Linked DNA regions of Homo sapiens: region 2 is linked to region 1. Evidence: promoter capture Hi-C in 16 types of primary human blood cells and fetal thymus (Javierre and others, 2016). All regions are on one chromosome and are shown on one strand. The core of a region is centred on a gene start or on the middle of the fragment in contact, and the rest is flanking DNA. Distances in the headings are between cores, read along the strand shown. Region 1 holds the start of SLC26A1 (solute carrier family 26 member 1). Region 2 holds the start of PCGF3 (polycomb group ring finger 3).

Region 1 (4,905 bases), core at 226-2,725:
ATCCATCGTGAGGTGAGATGGGATTACGACACCAAGCCCATGCCATGGGGTGTGCTGAGGCCAGCAGTGCTGAGGGGCGGCGTGGCGGCACCCTGTCCAGGCTCAGCTCCGGCCTATTGGCTCTGCGGTTCCTGGCTGAAAACCACCCTGTAGCCTCCTGAAGCTCACCTCCCCAACGGGGCAGGAACAGGCTGGGCTGCCACCACGCACATGTGCCTACCGTCAGAATGTCACAGTCACTGGACACAGGTGCAGGCAAGCCTGAGTCCAGCTGCTCCGTGTCCACCTCCCTGGCTCCCCAGGTTGGCAAACGGTCCTGCTGTCCACCCCATGCCCACACCAGAGCCCTCCCTCCCCCATCCAAACCATCGCCTGCTCTCCTGGAGACACCTCCACCCACCCCTCTGTCACCTGCCCTGTGGGTCCTGGGGCTGGCGGAAGTCTCAGGAAGAGGCCTCCTATGTCCCTGCCAAGCTTTGTGGGTACTGGGACCCCAAGTCTGCTGGGGGAGCAGCACTCAGACACTAGCCTAGCCCATCCGCCTGGACTTGGGACAGAATTCTGAGAATATGCCTGGACGGGGGCCCCATCAGGGCCAGCTGGGAGGGGAGGAGGGTGACTGGCGTCTGTCTCCCCTGCCCAGACAGTTCTGGGACGTGAGGCGCCCTTTTTCCCAGGCTGCACCAGCTCACTGTGGAACGGCCATGACACACTGTCCCGAGGCAGCACCGAGAGGGCCCAGCCCGCTGCACACAGTCACCCTGGGCCGGCAGAGCCGGAAGGGCACCTGACCTTTCCCTTGATCTCGGAAAACACCGTGGCGTTAGGGAGGCGGTGCTTAGAGGCCTGACTGGTCCCACGTGAGGCCTCGGGTCTGTCCTGTTTGCAGACTCCAATGTACTTTCACTTTAAACATTCTTCTCAGCGACGTTAGGCAAAGACTTTGCTCCCAGGACACCAGGTGCCCAGGACACCCTGGAGCCTGGGCTGAGCCTGCTGTTTGCACGCTGGCCCAGGGTGTGCGAGCTCCAGTCTCCTGGCGGGTGTGTTGGGGCAGTGAGCCCAGCCTGGTAGGTTGACACATGCAGGCTGGGCACAGCACCCCTGGGGCACAGAGCGGGGGTCCTGGCCCTCAGGCAACATTGCAAGAGTTGTGTCCCCTTCCCTGGAAGACCCCACCACACTGGGTCCCTGGATGCCCTGAAGCCCACCCCAAGCCCCTGGGGTCCAGGTGTGTGGAATGGGGACAGTAGGGCCACCTGCCTTGAGCCTGAGGGTGCCCCTAAGAAACCACGAGTCCAGGGCATTTCTGGCCTCGGCTCCCACGCCCCCCTCTGCTGCAGCTGAGATCTGGGCCCAGGATGGTTCTTACCTGAGGGAGTCCTCACAGGCGCGGAGGGCCCTGGGATGACGAGGGGCTGGCAAGACCACCGAGGACCGCAGGGCCCTCTGGCTCCCGCGAGCAGCGGGGAGAGTGGGGGTGGTGGCGCCAACCTGCAGGCAGTGGTCTGTGCCCTGGACTCTGTAGTTCAATTATTTACCTACAGATTGCTGAGTCATGGGTTTCTCCAGCCATGTTACCTGATCGGCTGATCCGGGAGTTGAACTGTAATCAGGGGCTTGTAGGAGTTAGAGCTGTGTGGGCCTCTGAGGAGCTCCCAGCCTCCCAGGAGCCGCTGCAGCTGTGGCTCTGCGGCCCTGCCGGGGGGGCTTAGGGACCAGCGGGAGGCGGGGGCTCAGGGGCTGAGCACAGGTAAACCTTCAGCTCTGGGGTCTGGGGTCGAGTGCAGCAGCCTTCAAACCCAGGCGGGGCTGAGGGAGGCTTGGTCTCCGTGTCCAGTCGCCGGACACCCTCCTGGTCCTGCAAGGAGCCAGCCTGGTCCAAGCTGGAGCAGGGCAGAGGCTGACAGCCGGCTCAGCCCAAGGCTGCCGGTGCGTGCATATGCGTGTGTGCTCGCGTAAGCCCTGTGTGTGGTGCTCACCGCCCAGGGCGAGGACTGCCGGGGTCAAGGTGCCGTGACTGGCCAGGAGTCCTGGTCTGACTGGACCCAGCACCGACCCACAGCGCCTGGTCACCCTCACGGCTCCTCTGCCCTCCCCTCTACCACAGACCAGGACCGGCAGTGCCTGCCTCATAGGGCTGGGGTGAAGATAAATGATTTTTTTAAGTGAACTAAATTAGGCCCACACGTGAAAATAAGGGTAAGCTGCTTTTTAAAAGGAATTATTAGCCAGGCACGATGGTTCACTCCTGTAATTCCAACACTTTGGGAGGCCTAGACAGGAGGATCGCTTAAGGCCAGCAGTTCAAGACCAGCCTGGTCAACATAGTGAGACGCCCCCCACCTTTTCTTTTTTTTTTTTTGAGGCGGAGTCTTGCTCTGTCACCCAGGCCGGAATGCAGTGGTGTGATCTCGGCTCACTGGAAGCTCTGCCTCCTGGGTTCACGCCATTCTCCTGCCTCAGCCTCCTGAGTAGCTGGGACTACAGGCGCCCGCCACCGCGCCCGGCTAATTTTTTTTTTTTTGAGACGGAGTTTCGCTCTGTTGCCCAGGCTGGAGTACAGTGGCATGATCTCGGCTCACTGCAAGCTCTGTCTCCCGGGTTCAAGTGATTCTCCTGCCTCAGCCTCCCGAGTAGCTGGGACTACAGGCACCCGCCACCACGCCCGGCTAATTTTTTGTATTTTTAGTAGAGACGGGGTTTCACCATGTTAGCCAGGATGGTCTTGATCTCCTGACCTCGTGATCCACCCACCTCGGCCTCCCAAAGTGCTGGGATTACAGGCTTGAGCCACTGCACCCGGCCGCCCCCTGCCCCCCAACCTTTAAAAAATTAAAAGTAAAAAATTAGCTGGGTGTGGTGGTGTGTGCCTGTATCCCAGCTACTCAAGCGGCTCAGGTGGGAGCATGGCTTGAGCCCAGGAGTTTGAGGCTGCCATGAGGTATGATTAGGCCACTGCACCCTATCCTAGGCCACAGAGCAAGAGCCCGTCTCAAAAACAAACGCTGTCATTGGCCCAGCACTTTGGGAAGCTAAGGTAGGAGGATTGCTTGAGCCCTGGAGGTCCAGGCTGCAGTGAGGTATGTTTGTAGCGCTTCACTCCAGCCTACAAGTCTTTTTTTTTTTTTTTTGAGATGGAGTCTCGCTCTGTTGCCCAGGCTGGAGTGCAGTGGCACAATCTCGGCTCACTGCAGCCTCTGCCTCCCGGGTTCAAGCGATTCTCCTGCCTCAGCCGCCTGAGTAGTTGGGACTACAGGCGTGTGCCACCACGCCCGGCTAATTTTTGTATTTTTAGTAGAGACAGGGTTTCACTATGTTGGTCAGGCTAGTCTTGAACTCCTGACCTTGTGATCCACCCGCCTCGGCCTCCCAAAGTGCTGGGATTACAGGCGTGAGCCACCGTGCCCGGCCAGTTCTGTCTCAAAAAAAAAAAAAAAATTCCTTGGGAGCCTCAGGTCCCCCCGACTTTGACAGTGAGTACTGGGTGGGAGCCTGCACGGGGCACCTGTGGCCGGAGGGTGAGTGTAACGAGGGGCTGCAGCCCTCAGTGCTCTCCCATCCCAAGGGAGGCCAGGAGGCTGCGGTGGGTCCCTCGGGTGGGGCTGGAAGGCCAACCCGGCCCTGGCACCTTGGGCAGCCTGACTCTGTCCGGGGAACAGAAGCCACAGGCTCTACTTCTCCTGTCCATGTGGGATTGAAGCCGAGGGTCTCGCAGAACCAGCTGATGTGCCGGGGCTCCATTTCCCCAAGACGAGGACACTGACATTGATGGGGCACAGCCCCGGAGGGAGGAGACCCTGGACACTCACCCCACCAAAGGTACCTCCTTGTGGAAGCCGTCTGCCAAGCGCTGCTAGTTCCCCACAGCCCTGGGTGAGCCCAGGGAAGACTGGGCTGCAGTGCCCCCATTTGGAGGTGAAATGGGAGTGGAATGTAGTTGGGATGGCCAGAGAGTAGGAGACATCCTAAGTGTGAGATGTGGACAGGGCTGAATGCTCCAGGGTCTCGTACCCCAGAGTGTGAGATGCGGGCAGGGCTGAACGCTCTGGGGTCTCGTACCCCTGAGTGTGAGATTCGGGCAGAGCTGAACAGGCTCCAGGGTCTCATACCCCCATAGCCTCCACCTGGGATGCCCTCTCCAAGTCTGATTTCTCCTCGAAGCCCCTGCCCTGTCCTCCAGAGTCTGAGCCCTTGCTTCCACCCCAGCCCAACCTGGGCCCCAGTGGTCCCTGGGAAGCAGCTGTTTGCTCAGCAGTTGGGAGCTGTGCTGTAAGAAGCGGTTGGCCAGTGGGTGGGGTAAGGCAGTCACGCAGGGCCTCAGGTCCCTCCCTGGGACAGATAAGGGCCCCTCTGGGTGCAGCCACCAGCAGGGTTGTTGGAGAACTGGGGAGACCCAGGGGGCTGGGGTTGTTCCCTCAAGGTCTCCCTAAAGGAGGCAGGGAGGACCTGGGTGCTACAGCAGGGGTGGGGCACCTGGTGCAGACGCCTGCATGCAGGGTGGGGTGGGCAGTGCCACCTGGGGCCACAGAAAAACCTGGAGTGGGAGGTGGCCCTTCCCCCCTCAGGAAAGGTGGTGGAGGTTTCCAGAGGCTGGCTTATGGGGACCTGTGGTGAGGTTTTAGGCAGGTGAGCGTAGTTCAGGAACAGCCTCAGCCGCACTGCAGGGGCCTGGCCTCAGGTCTTCTGCAGGCATTGGGCCTTATGCCCTTTTAGTCCCCACCTAGGCTGGGTGTCTAAAGTAGGTGAGGTCATCACTGCAGGATCCTTGGGGCCTGACCTGCCCCCTCCCACGTGTCTCTGCCTCAGTTTCTCTGAGCATTGAGGCAGTGGCTGGTGCTGTCCTGTGGCCAGGCCCAGAGGCTGAGTGCCCAGGGGGTCCAGGGGCCTTGCTGGCCAGAGAGA
Region 2 (4,905 bases), core at 651-3,150, 290 kb before region 1:
ACCACACTCAGCCCAGGACTGTTCCTGGCCTGCTGGCCACCCCCTGCCCCTTGCACCCCAGCACCAATACCTTGCCCCTGCCCTCCTTCTGGGATGATCCTCCAGTCCTCCCCTCCACATCTGGGGCCTGCCTCCACCAACTGAAAACTGCAGTCAGGGCTCTTGTGGAGGGCCAGCACCCCAGTACCCCAATCCCAGGCAGCCCTCTCCAGTGGGCCCCTCCCCTGCACTGGGCCACCCCATGGCTCCACGGAGCCCTCCCTGCCTCCCCTCCCCCGGGGGCAGCAGTGGCCACATTTAGTCCCTCCCCTTCACAGCAGCATGCCTGGGAATGCTGTACACATTCACATGTCTGCTGTCTGTCCTCCTCCCACCCGGATAACGTGTCCACCCAGTGCTGGAGATCTCAGCAGGCCCCCAGCCCTTCTCAGGCCCCTCTCAGCAGCGGACTCAAGCCGCTTCCCCACGTGCTGCACCATACCTGGGCCCGGGGCCCCCTGCCTGGTGGCTGCTCCCGGGGTCCAACTCTAGACTTCACGGGGACAGTCGCAGGGTCACTCCCTCAGCCACCACCTCTCCAGACGGGACGAGCTAATGACTCCCGACTCCTGCTCCATGCCTGCACCGCACAGCCTCGCAGCGAGTGCCCCTGGGCCTACGGGGCCTCCCCTCTCGCCACCAAGCCTCCACACTGCGCGGTGCCCCGCCGCCCGGAACCACAGTGGTCTCGCTTCCCACCCAAGACCCAACCTGCCCTCCCGTCCTGGGCCGCCAGCCCAGAACCCGCAAACCGGGAGACCCTAGGACCCCGCGTGCCTGCACGTCCGCCTCACCCCCGCACGCGCCCTCGGTCCTCGGATCCCGCCCTCTCAGGACAGTGCCAGTCCCACGAAGGCGCAAATGCCGCCCGTACTGCTCCACCCTGGCGGAGGGCACCCAGGTCGGAGAGTCCGCACGTGGGTGCCCTGTCCGTCCTGATGCTGAACATAACCTAAATACAAGCCTAAACATGACCAGACCCGAACCCCTGACCCTGACCCCACCCCTAATCCTGACCCTAACCCTAAACCCAACCCTAACCCTAAACCTAACCCCTAACTCTGACCCTACCCCTAATCCTGACCCTAACCGTAAAACCAACCCTAACCCTAACCCCTAATGCTGACCCTAACCCTAAATCCAGTCCTAACCCTGACTCTAACCCTAACCCTGACCCTAACCCTAAAACCCAACCCTAACCCTAACCCTGACCCTAACCCTAAACCCAACCCTAACCCTAGACCAGACCCTAACCCCTGACCCTGACCCCACCCCTAATCCTGACCCTAACCATAAACCCAACCCTAACCCTAACCCCTAATGCTGACCCTAGCCCTAAACCCAGTCCTAACCCTGACTCTAACCCCTAACCCTGACCCTAAACCTAAACCCAACCCTAACCCTGACTCTGACCCCTAACCCGACCCCTGACCCTAACACCGACCCTTAACCCTGCCGGGAGGGCGCTCAGTCCCGGCTCCCACAAAGGACAGCAGCACCCGTACTGGACGGCACCCCCGGAGGGACCCGGGCCTGAGGACTCTGCTGCTCCAGCGCCCCAGCTCACGATCGTCCAGGACCCGTCGGGTCCCTCAGCACAGCGCGGCCCTGTCGCTCTCCTGACCACGCCCCTCATGGCCCCGCCCTATGCCTCGCCCCTGGCCCTCGCGCCCCGCGGCTCCCTCCGCCGAGTCCAGGCCCGACGCGCCTGCGCCCTCTGAACACGCCCCTCCCCGCCCCTATCCCCACCCCTTACCGCCTGGCCCCGCCCACGCCCCTTGCCGCGGGGTGGGAGCCCAGACGCACACCGCGCATGCTCCGAGCGCGGCGCCCCCGACGCGGCGCTCGGCTCGGCTCGGGCATTTCCGCCTCTTTGTTTTAAACTCCGGACGGGCTTTTTTCTCCTCCTCTTGGGGGGGACCCAGAGGGAGCGGCGCCCCCTCCCCCCTCCGGCGCGGACCCCGCGTGCGCCTTGCTCGCCCGCAGCCCCGAGACCGCAGGTCAGTGAGTCCGCCCCGCCTGGCCTGGGCCCTCGGCGCCCGCTCCTCAGGCTGCGGCCTCGGCCCGTGTCCGGCCCGGAAGGCTCCGAACCCCGGGCCCGCGCTCCGTCGTCCCCGTCGGCCTGGCCCGGGAAGCCCTTGGCAGGCCCGGGAGGGCCGGCACCCCAGCCCAGTCAGGACTCCGGGAGGTCGAAGACCCCAGCCCAGGCAGGACTCCGGGAGGGCCAAGAGCCCAGCCCAGGCAGGACCCCGGGAGGGCTGGGACTCCAGCCTAGGCAGGACGCAGGGAGGGCAAGACCCCAGCCCAGGCAGGACTCCGGGAGGTCGAAGACCCCAGCCCAGGCAGGACCCAGGGAGGGCTGGGACAGCAGCCCAGGCAGGACGCAGGGAGGGCAAGACCCCAGTCCAGGCAGGACGCAGGGAGGGCAAGACCCCAGCCCAGGCAGGACTCCGGGAGGTCGAAGACCCCAGCCCAGGCAGGACCCAGGGAGGGCAAAGACCCCAGAACAGGGAGGGCCAAGACCCCAGACCAGGCAGGACCCCGGGAGGGCCAAGACCCCAGACCAGGCAGGACCCAGGGAGGGCGAAGACCCCAGCCCAGGCAGGACCGCGGGAGGGCAGGGACCCCAGACCAGGCAGGACCCCGGGAGGGCCAAGACCCCAGACCAGGCAGGACCCAGGGAGGGCGAAGACCCCAGCCCAGGCAGGACCGCGGGAGGGCAGGGACCCCAGACCAGGCAGGACCCTGGGAAGGTCGCGACCCCAGCCCAGGCAGGACCCAGGGAGGGCGAAGACCCCAGACCAGGCAGGACCCAGGTGAGGGCGAAGACCCCAGCCCAGGCAGGACCGCGGGAGGGCAGGGACCCCAGACCAGGCAGGACCCTGGGAAGGTCGCGACCCCAGCCCAGGCAGGACCCAGGGAGGGCGAAGACCCCAGACCAGGCAGGACCCAGGTGAGGGCAAAGACCCCAGCCCAGGCAGGACCGCGGGAGGGTAGGGACCCCAGCCCAGGCAGGACCCTGGGAAGGTCGCGACCCCAGCCCAGGCAGGACCCCGGGAGGGCTGGGTCTTCAGACCAGGCAGGACCTGAAGAGAGTTGGGCTCTGGGATTGCACAGGACCCCCAGAGTGCTAGGACACAATGACACATCATCCAGGAGGGTCTGACCCTGGGACAGGTCACCGAGAAGGGCTGGGACCCCAAGATGGGTCACCAAGGAGGGTCGGACCTGGCCACCTGGCAGGGCCCGGGGGGGCTAGGACCCTGGGAAGAATCACGGAGGAGGGCCAGACGTAGGGACCAGGCAGAATCCAAAGAATGCCAGGACCCCAGAATAGATCCCCCAGGAAGGTCCTGCCTTAAAGTGGGTCACAGACGAGGGCCAGGACCCCATGACCATAATTCAGGAGGACCTGACCCTGGAGCAGTCTTGTGAGTCCTGTGAGCACTGCTGGGACCCTGAGACTGCCCCGTCTCCCCCGGGACCCTGAGACAGCCCTGTTTTCCCCTGGGGGCCGGGACCCTGGGACAGCCTGTTTTCACCCGGGGGCCGGGACCCTGGGACAGCCCTGTTTTCCCCTGGGGGTCGGGACCCTGGGACAGCTCTGTTTTCCCCTGGGGGTCGGGACTCTGGGACAGCTCTGTTTTCCCCTGGGGGTCGGGACCCTGGGACAGCCCTGTTTTCCCCTGGGGGTCGGGACCCTGGGACAGCTCTGTTTTCCCCTGGGGGCCGGGACCCTGAGACAGCTCTGTTTTCACCTGGGGGCCGGGACCCTGAGACAGCTCTGTTTTCACCTGGGGGCCGGGACCCTGGGACAGCTCTGTTTTCCCCTGGGGGCCGGGACCCTGGGACAGCCCTGTTTTCCCCTGGGGGTCGGGACCCTGGGACAGCCCTGTTTTCACCTGGGGGTCGGGACCCTGAGACAGCCCTGTTTTCCCCTGGGGGTCGGGACCCTGGGACAGCCCTGTTTTCCCCTGGGGGCCGGGACCCTGGGACAGCCCTGTTTTCCCCTGGGGGTCGGGACCCTGGGACAGCCCTGTTTTCCCCTGGGGGCCGGGACCCTGGGACAGCCCTGTTTTCACCTGGGGGCCGGGACCCTGGGACAGCCCTGTTTTCACCTGGGGGCCGGGACCCTGAGACAGCCCTGTTTTCTCCCAGGGCCCGGCACCCTGAGACTGGACAGTGAGAAGGGCTCATGACATGGACAGGCTTCTAGATGACCAGGACCTCAAACGGGGTCACTTAGGGTCGGGACACTGGTGTGGACTGGGAAGAAGGCTAGGCTCTCAAAGAGGACCTGATGAGAGCTGGAACTTCCAGACAGGTCCTCAGAGGGCTGGGACTCCTGAACAAGTCACTGAGGAGCATGTAGGCCCCAAGACTGGACTGTAAGGAGTACTGGGACCCTCGGGGGGGAATCCAGCAGTGTCCTGAATCTGCCCAGTCCACTCAGCTGGATGCACCTGCTGTGAAGGCCAGGCATCTGGCATCCTGGTACCCGAGGCCCTTTCCATGAGACCCTGGGCCAGCCCCACAGCCCCTGCACATGAACCGCCTAGGTGATACCTGGGGTAGGTATGAGGCAGGGGCCTCAGGGTTCCAGGAGCTCCCAGCCCACAGGCTCCACACCTCAGGCTGGCACTGCACCCTCCCACTCAGCCCCTCGTCCGGGGCTGCTGTCCTGTCCTTGCCTTGGCTGTGGTCCGTGTCCAGCACCTTCAACCCCTCCTGCCCCTCTCCCCATCTTCAAGGTCATGTGAGTGCCCCACTTCCTCAGTGTAGAGGCGTTTCCAGTGTCCGGGAGACTTGGAGGAGGGGTGGGGTCTGAGCTGGGATGTGGACTCCTGGGCATATTTTGGGGACAGT

What was found. The method cuts DNA at HindIII sites, captures the fragments that hold promoters and counts their contacts. A CHiCAGO score of 5 or more calls a contact.
Region 2: a contact is called between the fragment with the promoter of PCGF3 here and the fragment with the promoter of SLC26A1 in region 1, in 1 of 17 cell types (naive CD8 T cells). The highest score is 5.7, in naive CD8 T cells.

Annotation. Positions count from the first base shown.
Region 1 is chr4:991,929-996,833 of GRCh38, forward strand. SLC26A1 (solute carrier family 26 member 1) reads right to left here and starts at 1,476. Exons shown (of 3, transcript NM_022042.4): 1 at 1,373-1,476. The region is part of intron 2 of IDUA (alpha-L-iduronidase); the gene reads left to right. RefSeq lists enhancers at 813-1,624, 1,625-2,436. The HindIII fragment of the contact is 37,873 bases long and covers 473-4,905 here.
Region 2 is chr4:703,932-708,836 of GRCh38, forward strand. It overlaps PCGF3 (polycomb group ring finger 3), which reads left to right and starts at 1,901. Exons shown (of 11, transcript NM_006315.7): 1 at 1,901-2,039. RefSeq lists enhancers at 1-648, 1,689-2,674, 2,675-3,659 and a silencer at 1,624-2,323. The HindIII fragment of the contact is 21,581 bases long and covers 1-4,905 here.